Regions from separate parts of the Homo sapiens genome. Here all the other regions are linked to region 3. The links are contacts of gene promoters, found by promoter capture Hi-C in blood cells and fetal thymus (Javierre and others, 2016). All regions are on one chromosome and are shown on one strand. The core of a region is centred on a gene start or on the middle of the fragment in contact, and the rest is flanking DNA. Distances in the headings are between cores, read along the strand shown. Region 1 has its middle 200 kb from the start of LINC02104. Region 2 has its middle 220 kb from the start of LINC02104. Region 3 holds the start of C7 (complement C7).

Region 1 (4,010 bases), core at 1,024-3,523, 1.2 Mb before region 3:
CTTTTTTTGAAAATTTGTGCACTTTCTATAATGCAGATCCAGTATACTTATGGTAATCTCAAAAGAGAACAAATGAAAGCTATACAGTACCAGATGTAAAGACCTGTTACAAAAGCACAGCAATTAAGACAATGTAAGATTAGTACAAGCACAATCATACCAATGAACTAAAATATAGAGCCCAGAGACAGTTCCATACATGATATATGAGATGATATGTGACAAAAGCATTGTCGCAGTTCTGCGAGTTAGAAAGATCTAGGTCAACTGGAAATCTATATGGGAAATATGTACTTTGACCTACGATATATGGGATAGGCAAAAATTAGGGGTATATCATATACCTAAATATAAAAAGAAAAACAATAATTCTTCCTGAAGAAAATAGGGGAAAATCTTTAAGACCTTTAAATAGTTGGTGTTTCATGAAGATCTTCTTAAACAAAGATTTCTCGAACAGTGTGAAAACTCACACCATACAAAAAAGATTATAAGTGAACTGCATTAAAATTAAGAATTTATTTTTATTCAAATACATTTTAACATTAAGTGTTAAAAAGCAAAGCATAGACTCATATTTGATAAATTGTATTCAGAATAAAGAGCTCCTACAAAACAATAATAATAAAAAGACTGACAATTGATTTTTTGTTTTTTGTTTTTTTGGTTTAGATGGAGTCTCACTCTGTCGCCAACCTGAGGCTCTCGGCTCACTGCCACCTCCACCTCCCGGGTTCAAGCGATTCTCCTGCTTCAGCCTCCCGAGTAGCTGGGACTACAGGCACGCACCACCACGCCCGGCTAATTTTTGTATTTTTAGTAGAGACGGGGTTTCACCATGTTGGCCAGGATGGTCTCCATCTCTTCACCTCGCTATCCACCCACCTTGGCCTCCCAAAGTGCTGGGATTACAGGTGTGAGCCACCGCGCCTCACCTGACAATTGATTTTTTTAGAAAACAGGCAAAGACTCCTCACAAGAGAGTGTATTCCAATGATCAATAAGGATAACAAAAGGGATGTGCAAATGGCTAGGTACAATTGATTAGAGAATTGCAAATTAAAGTACAGTGAAATACAGATACACGTCTATCACAAGAGCTGAAGTTAGAGACTGTCAATGCCAACAAGGATGTGGACCAGCCAAAGAAAGTGTAAATAGTAGGAGCAAAGAGCCAGCACTACCCTTAGGCTAGGATAGCTGAAAGACAAGACCTCCTGGAAGTCCATTGGAAGAGAAACCCAGCAACTGCCACCTAAGGCCCAGTAGGGAGGGAACTTTCCTCTGCTAGCCAGTCTGTACCTTCCATTAAACAAACTAAATTGGAAGCCAGAGGGCGCTGGGTGCAGCTGATGCAATCTATAAGGTCAGACTCCCATAGCACAGAACTGAGTGGAGGGATGTGGTGACTGATCTGGAGGGGTAAACAAAGAGCCAGCAAGACTGTTCAATCATTAGATAATTTGTTTGCTCTCTCTCTATCAATGTAGCTAGCTAACCTAGCTAGCTATTTATTTTTGCCTAGCTGTTTCTGTTTGTTTACTTTTTGGTGGGAAAGTTGCTGCATATGTAAAGAAAATCAAATGGCACAAAAGATTCAGAATGACAAGCAACTAACATTTGTATGCTTACATGTCAGGCCTTTGCTAAGCTTATTTACAGACTTCAGGGCTTCCTGCTCGAGGTACAGTATGATTAAATTTTGGAGGTGGGAAGAGGATATTAGCTAAAGGCAGTTGCATATGCTACAATAGTAACTTTTTAAAAAAGTTTCAAAGGCAAAATACTTTTACAGTGAATTTTATTAAAATTTGCATAATCAAAACTTACAAGGGAAGAGAGACAAGCATAGTCTAACACTATGATAGTTAATAGTTAAATTAATTTGACTAATGGTCCCATTAATTAATTTAATAGAGCAATACTTATTTGATCGGAGTATTTATCATTTGAACAGCTGGCAATGATTTGTTCATCTTATTTTCTTAAAGAAAACATCTGCAGAGGGAATGTTAAAATAATGACTACATTTTGCAATTGAAGGTTTTTGTGTTAAGTGCATGATTTTTCCCCTGGCACGAAAGACATGTAGTTCATGGTAGCAGATGGAATATACACTGCAAAAAAATACTTGTCATAATCTAACCACCAAAAATACATTACATTTTTAATATATTTAATATTATTTTCTTCCAACATATTTACAAACACAACTTTTTTAAGAATTATGTTTTATGTATACATACCTAGGAGTTATTTCAGGTTCAGTTCCAGACCACTACAATAAAGTGAATATTGCAATAAAGTGAGTCACACAAATGTTTTGGTTTCACAGTACATATAAAAGTTATGTTTACACTATCCTGTAGTCTAGTAAGTATGCAATAGCATTATGTGTAAAAAAATGTGGAAACCTTAAAAAATACTTTATTGCTAAAAAATGCTAATGATCATCTGAGCCTTGAGAGAGTTGTAATTTTTTTGCTGGTGAAGGTTCTTGCCTTGAGGTTCATGGATGCTGACTGATCAGAGTGATGGTTGCTAAAGGGTGGGGTGGCTGTGGCAATTTCTTAAAATAAGAGAACAATAAAGTTTGCCACAGTGATTGACTCTTCCTTTCACAAAAGATTTCTCTGTAGCATGCGATGCTGTTTGGTAGCATTTTTCCAAGAGTAGAACTTCTTCCAAAATTAGAGTCAATCCTCTCTAACCCTGTTGCTGCTTGATCAATTAAGTTTATATTATACATATATATGTGTGTATTTATACATATATATACACATAAATTTATGTCACATTCTAAATCCTTTCTTGTAATTTTAACAATGTTCAACTCGTCTTCACCAGGTATAGATTCCATCTCAAGAAACCATTTTCTTGGCTTATCCATAAAAAGAAGCTTCTCATCTTTCCAAATTTGATCATGAGCTTGTAGCAATTGTCACATCTTCAGGCTTCACTTAGAATTCTAGATCTCTTGCTGTTTCTCCTACCTCTGCAGTTACTTCTTCCTCTGAAGTCTTGAATTCCTCGGAGTCACCCATGAGGGTTGGAATCAACTTCTTCCAAACTCCTGTTAGTGATATTTTCACCTCTTCACATGAATCACAAATGTTAATGGCATCTAGACTGGTGAATCCTTTCCAGAGGTTTTGAATTTACTTTGCCCAGATCTATCAGAAGAATCACTATATATGGAAGCTATAGCCTTACAAATGTATTTCTTAAATAATGAAATTTGAAAGATGAAATTACTCCTTGATCTGTGGGCTGAAGAATGGATGTTGTGTTAGCAGACATGAAAACAACACTAATCTCCTTGTACATGTCTATCAGAGCTCTTGGGTGAATAGGTGCATTGTCAATGAGCAATAATATTTCAAAAAGAATTTTTCTTTCTTTTTTCTTTGGAGGAATATTTTCAGTTTGTTAAATAAAAATGTTTTTTAGAGTGATACTTTTCACATTACAAAAATAAACCAAAATGAAGAAAAGGTCACTGTAAAATGACGGAAAATGATCTGTAGATTTGCTTTTAGTATTTCAAATAGCCGACAATGCATGTCAGAAAATGAATGCAAGATCACAACAGTCTTGTATTTACTTTGTATTTGAAGAAGATAGTGAAGTGGCCACATTCTATTTTCTTTTAATTGCTATTAATATGGTTGATCTGATTGGCTCTTCGATGAATTTCATCCAAGAAGTTCTCCAGTTGTTCTATTAGCATTCGTTTTTAAAACCTTGATGCTTCTTTAATAACATTTTGTAAAAATATTAGTCTTGTTTGTAAACTGCCTTGCACATGCTTCAGTAAAGTGAAGATTCTTTCATATTTTCTCCCTGGCTTTCAGATCTCTTTCATTATTTGTGGTTTTAGTTCGATATTGACCTCTTCATGGCTTCTGCAATGGATCAATTTCTTTCCTTTGTTGAGTGAAGATGCTGGTATGTTCTCTTCAGCACATTGTTCTTTATCTCTTGGCTCCTCATGATTTTCTAAAAATCCA
Region 2 (4,433 bases), core at 766-3,265, 1.2 Mb before region 3:
TACCGTGCTCAAGGTGATGAAAGTTCAGTTTCCTCATGGCTGCCTTTACTTGCCTATTCTTCTCCCCACCCACCTTCAATTTTGGTTCCAGAAAACATACTGTCTCCCAATAGATTGTTAACATTCTTGGAAGCAATTCCAGTAAGGCTAGTTTTGTGGTGGTCTAATCCCTTCTAGCTGCACTCCAATTTGGCTTTTTATTGTTATTTCAAATAAAACGATTTTACTGCCTCACCAGTTCCTCTGTGTAGTAAAAGTCTTAGAATATTCCCGATGCTGTTTTTTGAAATGAATAAATTCAGCCTTGGGGAAACTGCGGTGAGATTTTGGTGGTTACTGATATCATGCAAAAGAACTCATGACGAACCCGTGATTCAGTCGCGGCTACGCATGCAGGCGTGTCTGTACACATACTTACCAGCCCTGAGACCTGGCGACAGTGGAGCAGCGCTCTAGGGAACCCGGCCAGCGGGCTGATGTCCCACGGGCTCCACAGAGTCCTCCATCATTTGCAACCACTCTGACGCAAACATGCTGCCAAACTGAAATTGAGAACATAGAAAACTTGACAGGACGATAGGGAAAGAAGGGGAGGAGGGTACATTAAAGAAGATTGGAAAAGAACAAAGAAAAGTAGAGATCAGTGTGGAAGGGCAACATTTCTCAACCATTATCAGCACTACCAGCCTTGCAAGACAAGATTCCCAGGGCCTTGTTCTGTCTTAACACTATAATACAAAACTCGAGAGCCAATCTCTTACTCCACTGAGAATCAATTTGTTTATGTCACTCAGGTATGATATTGAGAAAAATATTGAATTGCTTTTAGTGAACAAATACTAGTTTGTGAGTTCAAAGCTTAGTTTTGATTAGGCTCATGAGTAAGTTGATCTGTGAGACTATCCAGGATGTGCTGCATTGTGAAAATGTGTTTCCAGTTTTCATCCAGGCAGCCCTCTTTCCTGCCTTCTCCCTGCTCATCCAGACCACAATTACACTTGCTATTTGGAAGACTCTTCCTTTGAAAGCATTTAGAAGTATAAATAATGGTATGTTGGTTTCATCCGTCACAACTAAAAAAAAAAAATTACTTATTTTTTGATATAAGTACTTCTGTGGTATTTTAAAAATATTTTAATTATCGATTATTCTCTGGGACCCTGGGACTTAGGAATTGATATAACAGTGAACGCAATCTTGACTGTAATTTTTGGTTTGTTCTTCACAAACTTTCAGTGGCTGCAAAACAGTGTGAATTGAATTGGTCAGACTTCCTGTAAGGTAAGGTTAAAAACAGTTTAGGATTTAGGAATTGATATAACAGTGAACACAATGATCACTGAAATTTTTGGTTTGTTCCTTACAAACTTTCAGTGGCTGCAAAACAGTGTAAATGGAATTGGTCGGACTTCCTATAAGGTAAGGTTAAAAACAGTATGACCCAGAAAGCAGGGGACATGATTATAACCCCTGATTTTAGAAAAGTCACTATCAACTAGAGGTCTTAATGTGAGAATATAACTAATTTAAAAATCATATTTTGGGTTTTTCCCTCAAGTATTTAGGGTAAAAAGAATCTCATGTTACTTGTTTCATTTAGTCAGATTTAAAGTTCATAATTACACCATGGCACTCTATAGGTTTTTGAATCAATTGTTTAAGAAGACAGGTCACTGTGGTGTAATGTGTTGACACTTTCCTATTGCTGATTTGCAAAATTGGGAGTATGTTTATAAAAGGATAAAATAAGCATAGTTAAATTTTCCAAATTAAATAAAACACAGCTAATTTTAAAGTTATTTATTTCAGATTTGATATTCTACAAATATATTTTCCTGTAAACATTGATATAATTTTCAATATTTTAGAAAAATTAAGTTTTAACAAGTATATTAAATGATTTTACTACTTTGTTTTTATTTTCACTTTAGTTTACATTTCTGATGAAACTATACTTAAATTTGTTATAATGAATATATTTACATGTTATTTTTAATCCTTTATGTTGTTATTGTGACAATTAAAATTATGAAAACATTAACTACAATACTATAATTAGCTATTGTGCTAAAATTAAAGCAATAAAAGTAAATTTTATTGTGTAATTCTACACAATTCAGACCTAACTTCTGAATTTTATATATATTTTTATAACTCTTCTAAACACTACCGATACGTCTGCAGGGTGATGTATGTTCTACAATAATTTAATACATTATCTTTGATATTTCATTGACTTTTAGTTAAATATTTTACATTTTAGTGTTTTGAAGGTGCAGTTAGCAATGTAGGAGTGTGGGGTATCTTTTATTAAATAGTTTTCATTTGATTCATGCTGTTACAGACAGACATATGGTCCATGGGCTTCCATTTGTACTCTTGCTCCAGGCCCTGCGAATGTTGGGCAATTTCACTCAGTTTTGACAGACTAGACAGAGCATGAATTTTACCTTTGCCAGATGTGCAGAAAGGGCTGTTTCTTTGCAGATGTTTCATTAATATGAGAACCTTGAAAAGATCATATTTTCCAGTTTACTTAAACTTGAATAAATTATAGAAAGTAATTCATACAATATTCTAAACATGTGAGATAAATTATTGAAAAGTTGTTTGACCTTTTTTTTTTTTTAAACATGAGAAATTATATTCCAGTGACAGTCCTGGATATTGAGTTTGGACTTACGCAGTAATATACACAGCACCAATAAAGTAGATCTCATTATTATGATTTCACTTATTATTCATTATTTTTCTTTGTTACATATTGTATGTCCTTTTATGTGGGAGTTCTATGTAATGTATTATTTCCATTTGAAGAGTGAACACACTCTGAGGCTGTCTACAGAGGACCTTGGTGATGAATCTATCTAATCATTCATCATTTCTCTTCCCCACTGAACAGCTTGGCCTGCTTGACTCAGTCTTCGTGATTCAAGATGAGAGTCTGTCTGAGGCGTGCTTCTCTCATTGCTGCCAGAGGCCCTTAGTGGTGCTGCTGTGTTTCAGTGGACAACTTTGGTATCTTACTCAATTAAAAACTCTCCTTTTGATTATCATTCCAGAGTTTATCTTGAAATTTTCTATAGTTTATTTTTCTTTAATTTTTCTTATATGCCCAGAACTTTGCTTCTTTGGATCGTTTCCATCTTTACTTTCAAATAGTCATAATTTATAAGCTTTTGCTTACCTCACACTTTTCCAAGTTCAAGTAGTTTCACAAGGCATGGTGCCAGGGCATTGGGGTATGGTGCTCTACCATTAAGTAAGGGAATTGGTGACTGGTTCCACTCTGTGTTTCACAAGTTCTCTGGACAATGTCTTTAGCTCTCTGGGATTCTAATACTGTCTGTAGAATTAGTACCAGACTAAATGGGCCTTTAGGTCACATGTAGCTCTAACATTTCCAAATCGTTACTATTGTTTCAGATACCCATTTGTCCAGTTAAAGAATAGCAGATATATATTTATACCAATATGTAAGTTGCTACATAGAAGGAAGAAGTAAAACGTTAACTGCCTCTTTTTAATGTCGAAGAATACCACATAGTTTTAGAATTGTAGGAAACCATGAATGATGTGATGTTCTTATTGTTTGTGTGTTTGTGTGTGTGTGGGGGGTGAGTGTAATTATATAAGCATGGTTTCTTTTACATCACATCCTCATTTTGTATGCTTTAAAGAGTTCTTGCATAAGATTGTCCTTATATCACTTGTCCCTCTTCCATTGAGATGTTAGTTACTCATCTCCAATTTAAAACTAAGAGTTTTATTGGAATGTAACTCACATAGCATACACTTACACCCATTTAAAGTGTACCATTAAATGTAGTTTATCTTGGATTTTACTTTTTAAAAAGTACTGATAAGGTATACTTTTTTTAGAAAAAAGTACAGTACAAGATAAGCTACACCTCATGGTCAATGTGTGATTGAGTTATAGTTTTATACAGGGATTGGTTAATGCCATAAATTAGGAGCATACTTTCTGTTTTACTTATAAGTGTTTTGTAACGACCTCTTCCTCACCACACTGGAATACACACATGCACACATCATTTTTGTTGAGTTGGAGAGGACAACAATGATATGAAAGCATAATTTTTTAGCTATATGTTGTGTTAATGTTTTTGAGAAAACAATATTATACTACATCTGGTGTGATATAACAAAAAATAAGCCAGTTATTTAGTAAGCGTAGGATCCATTCAGCAGTTACAAAATAAGGAAGATCTTCCGGGTGCTAAGATGCTCTGGTTTTAGTCATGCTGTTCATGGGCAACTTTCTAGCTCTGCACTCTGTTTCTACCATTTAAAGAAAAGAATAAAAAATAACAGCTTTAATATAATGTAGTTTACACATTCTCCTCCAAATATCCAGTCCAGTTTTTAGAGATTTTATTATCCTCTAAATAGTTATTACTATTTTCAGGCTC
Region 3 (4,274 bases), core at 70-2,569:
TTGTCTTTATTATTCCAGTGCTTTGGATATAGGAAGAAAAAGTCATTAAAGCTAGAAAATCTTCACTAATGGAATGTTTACTTATAAAATTATTCTTAACTCAAATTTTCTTTCCCGCTTAACATTTATTCTACCTCACTCATAATGCACTAGCAGCTAGTGTTAGAATATTTGGTCCAACAATACAAATAAAACTGTAGCTCAATTTTTTTTTTTTTTTTTTTTTTGAGATGGAATCTCACTCTGTCTCCCAGGCTGGAGTGCAGTGGTGCGATCTCAGCTCACTGCAACCTCCGCCTCCTGGGTTCAAGTGATTCTTCTCTCTCAGCCTCCTGAGTAGCTGGGACTACAAGTGCATGCTACCATGCCTGGCTAATTTTTTTGTGTTTTTAGTAGAGACGGGGTTTCACTGTATTGTCCAGGCTGGTCTCGAACTCCTGACCTCTTGGTCCGCTCGCCTTGGCCTCCCAAAGTGCTGGGATTACAGGCATGAGCCACCGCGCCTGGCCAACTGTAGCTCAGTTTCAATAGGAAATCTAAAATCTTGCAAAATAAGCAGCATTTTATTAAATGTATGAAGGTGATGTTGGGGACTTGCTAGAATCAATGCAAAGCTATGGGAAAATAAAGACCTGGTAGAATAAGACAAGATAAAAAGCAAAGGAGAGAAAATGGATGTGGATAATGACCCTGAGAAGAACTTTCCAACACAGTGATCTGATTATCAAAGGATTAAGTGAAGTTCTTGAGAAAATTAGTGATGTCCTCAAATATGTTTACAAAAATTGATATTCTTTCTGATTATTCTGTGAAAGTTAAGCATGAAGGGATGACTATTGGGTTGTATTAGGCTGTACTTTGGGGAAAAATTCTACTCCAGAACATTCTATTTAGATTTTGAGTGACAGAACTGCATTTAAATATTTTCTTTCATAAAATATTTAATCTCAAAGTCTGGCATATAACACCTTTTAAGAGAATCATGAAAACATCCACTTAGTTTAGTAGATTGAAACAAGAAGGAGGCTCATCCCTTGCCTTACAGAGTCTCCTTTGGTTGAAAATCACTTAAACATTGAACTGAGAACATTTGCTGTGTTTCCTGATTTATAGATATGTTTCTAAGAAACATATCTATAACTTCCAAACAGTCCCAGCTGGCTGTAGCTAAGGCTGTGTAATTGATAAGATGCATCTGGTTTCAAGGCACAGATTAAGTACAAGGTCAGGCTCTTGCTGTCGTTGGAGAATCCGGTTGGGGTAGGAGCTAAATCTCAGGACCACTTGCTCTATATATGAGTGCCAAGATAATCTAGAGCAGGGAGAGGCAGAGAGGCAGGCAGCCTGCTGGGCTCTTCCTGCTGTTGAAAACTTACCCGGCCCTTACAGAGGAAATCTTCCTCCTCTCTTCTGCCCTGAATGTTTTCCCAAACATGAAGGTAAGACAATAAATTCATTACTTTTGTAAATGAAGCTATCTTTTCAAATGAACGGGGGTAATATAAATGTAATTTAAACGAAGAGGTGTAATACCTAACTGAAAGACATCAAATAAATAGAAGGCCAGAGGAAAATACAGAAGAAAAAGACCTGGGGGTGATGTTTAGAAATCCTTATTTAAACATATTTAACAGTTCAGCCAAAGTGAATTCCTTTTTCTTATCTTGTGGTGAAATTATAGGTCCAGAGGTCTGGGAATCAGGAATTGGAGACAATGTTTATGAAAGTCCCGATAAAGTCATAAAGAAATACAATAGTACTATTGTTATTTCTTGGGAAAAACTTTCCTCTGGTGTATTTTTTTTTTTTTTTTTTGCTTGTTTGGATTAGGAGCCATGCAGTAGGGTCCTGCGATTTATCTAAGAGCTAATAGAAAAGCAAATTTGCAGGCTTGGAACTTGAGAATTTGAAATCCTGGATGAAAGAGTCAGCATTGTGAGAATAGAAGATATGAGTAGATGGAATAAAACTAAAGGTCTACCAAGTATACATGTTGGCCCAATGCAAAAAGGCCAAATATTAAAAAACAAAACAAAACACAACCAAAAAGCTATTCAACAAAAGATAAGACCAAAGATAGAAATCGCTATCATAGACTAAATCTCTGGAATGCAAAAATAAGTTGAGATTGCTATTCAAATTTTATTATTGTAAATTTTGGTATTTAAACTTTAAAAATGTTGCATTGTAAGACTGTAGGAATAATTTCACAGATCTGTCAGTGGCTAGATTGCTTCCATAGTCACTGTATTGTCCATTGGGGCACCGAATCCAAGCTCGCTCATTATTGGGGTTAGAGGAGGAGCAAGATATGGATCTTGATTAAGCCATGCCTTCTGTGAAATTAAATAATTAAAATTAAACACAAATAACAAAGTTAATTTGTTTAAAGTTATGATGGGCAGTCATAAAAAAGAATGAAATCATGTCCTTTGCAGCAACATGGAGGCAGATAGAGGTCATTATCCTAAGAAAATTAACGCAGGAACAGACAATCAAATACCCCATGTTCTTAATTTTTAAGTGGGAGCTAAATATTGGGTACTCATGGGCATAAAGATGGCAACACTAGACACTGCACTCCAGCCTGGGCAATAAGGTGAGACTCTCTCTCAAAAAAAAAAAAAACAAAAAAAAAACAAGAAAAGAAAATGATGCTCTTCTGAAAGTTATCTAGCCAAAATGTTTTTTCCTAATATTTGTGTTAACTATTAATCTTTTACTTTATTTTACAATAAGAAATCTTAATAATTGCTTTGTGCTTAAAAACATGTTTACAATCATTATTATAATATTTTACTGCTGTAATAATAAATATACTTCTATCCTTTAATTAGTTGACAAAATATCAACAAATAAAGCAATTAATTTTTTAAAAATTTTACATATAGGGGCTTTCCAGCAAAAATTGGGAAGCCTGATAGACAAGTTCTAAAACAACTGTAACACTAAAGCAATTATTTCACTCCAAGTCGCATGTAGAGTTCTTACCTGTATTTGAAAGTGGACATTCATATTTTTACAGTAAACCTGAAGGACATGCTTTGGTGATATGTGACAAAGAAGGGACACTTGTGAAAGCCTTGGGCTATCAAGAAGCTAGAAATGGTTTCTATGTCAGACTTTTTAAGAGGAAGCAATGTTTTGGCCCCACAGCCCCCACGTGAACTAAATTCAGAGAGACAGTCACAGGATTCCCTTTGGTTCTCTCTGTGTTCTTGGATAGGAAATAACTTGGATCTGAGGTGTTGGAGAAGGATGTCAGGGACAAGGGACTTCCCTCGGAGCTGGCTGTGGCCCAGCCATTTGTTCCGTCCCTCCAGGAGAGAGCTGAGCTTGGGGCCTGTGAATCTAGGGAATGGTCGTCACAGTGCCCAAGCACAGTGATGGTCAAGCACAGTAATGTCTCAAATCAGGATTGTAGCTGGGACATACTGGAAGAAGGAGGTAGAGCTAATGCTCATTCATTGATGATAAAGAGGAGAAGATAATTCAGGGGAATGTAGTTCCAGCTTAGCTACATTGACACAGAACAAAAATACCACACACTTTTTCTTTCTTTCTTTTTTTTTTTTTTTTGAGACAAAGTCTCACTCTGTTGCCCAGGCTGGAGTGCAGAGGTACGATCTCTGCTCACTCCAACTTCCGCCTCCTGGGTTCAAGCGATTCTTCTGCCTCAGCCTCCTGAGTAGCTGGGGCTACAGGCGTGCGCCACCATGCCTTGCTAATTTTTGTATTTTTTTTTTTTTTTTAGTAAAGATGGGGTTTCACCATATTGGCCAGGCTGGTCTTGAACTCCTGACCTCATGATCCACCTGCCTTGGCCTCCCAAAGTGCTGGGATTACAGGCATGAACCACCACGCCCGGCCCCACATACTTCTTCAACCAAGCAATTCTTTTATAGAGTCAGTTCAGATGTATGTCTATCACTGTCATTCACATGATTTATTTGTGTTTGTTCTATCTCTCTTGTTCATTTATAAGGTATTTTTTCCAAAGGTAATTATCCTAAGGCTAGCCAAATTTCAAGAAATGCTTTTGGTTAGTAGATTCACTTTGTATAACATGAACAGAACTGGTCTTGTAATAAGCAGACCTTGATGGGTTATAATGAGTATGTATATGAAGAAGGTGATGACAAAGGCATCCATGATGATAAAAAGTATATTTCCTAAAATTTCATTGAAATTCTTTATTTTAAAAAATGCTTTTAAATTTGAGACAAGATCTTGCTCTGTTGCCCTGGCTGGAGTGTAGTGGTACAATTATGGCT

The links. Contacts are between HindIII fragments. The CHiCAGO score rates a contact against its expected background, and 5 or more counts as called.
Region 1: a contact is called between a fragment that was not itself captured here and the fragment with the promoter of C7 in region 3, in 1 of 17 cell types (fetal thymus). The highest score is 5.2, in fetal thymus.
Region 2: a fragment that was not itself captured here is called in contact with the fragment with the promoter of C7 in region 3 in 1 of 17 cell types (activated CD4 T cells); the score reaches 5.7 in activated CD4 T cells.

The regions. Positions count from the first base shown.
Region 1 is chr5:39,715,332-39,719,341 of GRCh38, forward strand. It overlaps the pseudogene INTS6P1. Among named protein-coding and RNA genes, the nearest start is that of LINC02104, 200 kb to the left of the region's middle. The HindIII fragment of the contact is 1,248 bases long and covers 1,650-2,897 here.
Region 2 is chr5:39,740,183-39,744,615 of GRCh38, forward strand. No RefSeq gene overlaps it. Among named protein-coding and RNA genes, the nearest start is that of LINC02104, 220 kb to the left of the region's middle. RefSeq lists a silencer at 391-617. The HindIII fragment of the contact is 2,318 bases long and covers 857-3,174 here.
Region 3 is chr5:40,908,178-40,912,451 of GRCh38, forward strand. C7 (complement C7) reads left to right here and starts at 1,320. Exons shown (of 18, transcript NM_000587.4): 1 at 1,320-1,439. The coding sequence starts at 1,434. It also overlaps the pseudogene RNU7-161P. The HindIII fragment of the contact is 6,323 bases long and covers 1-4,274 here.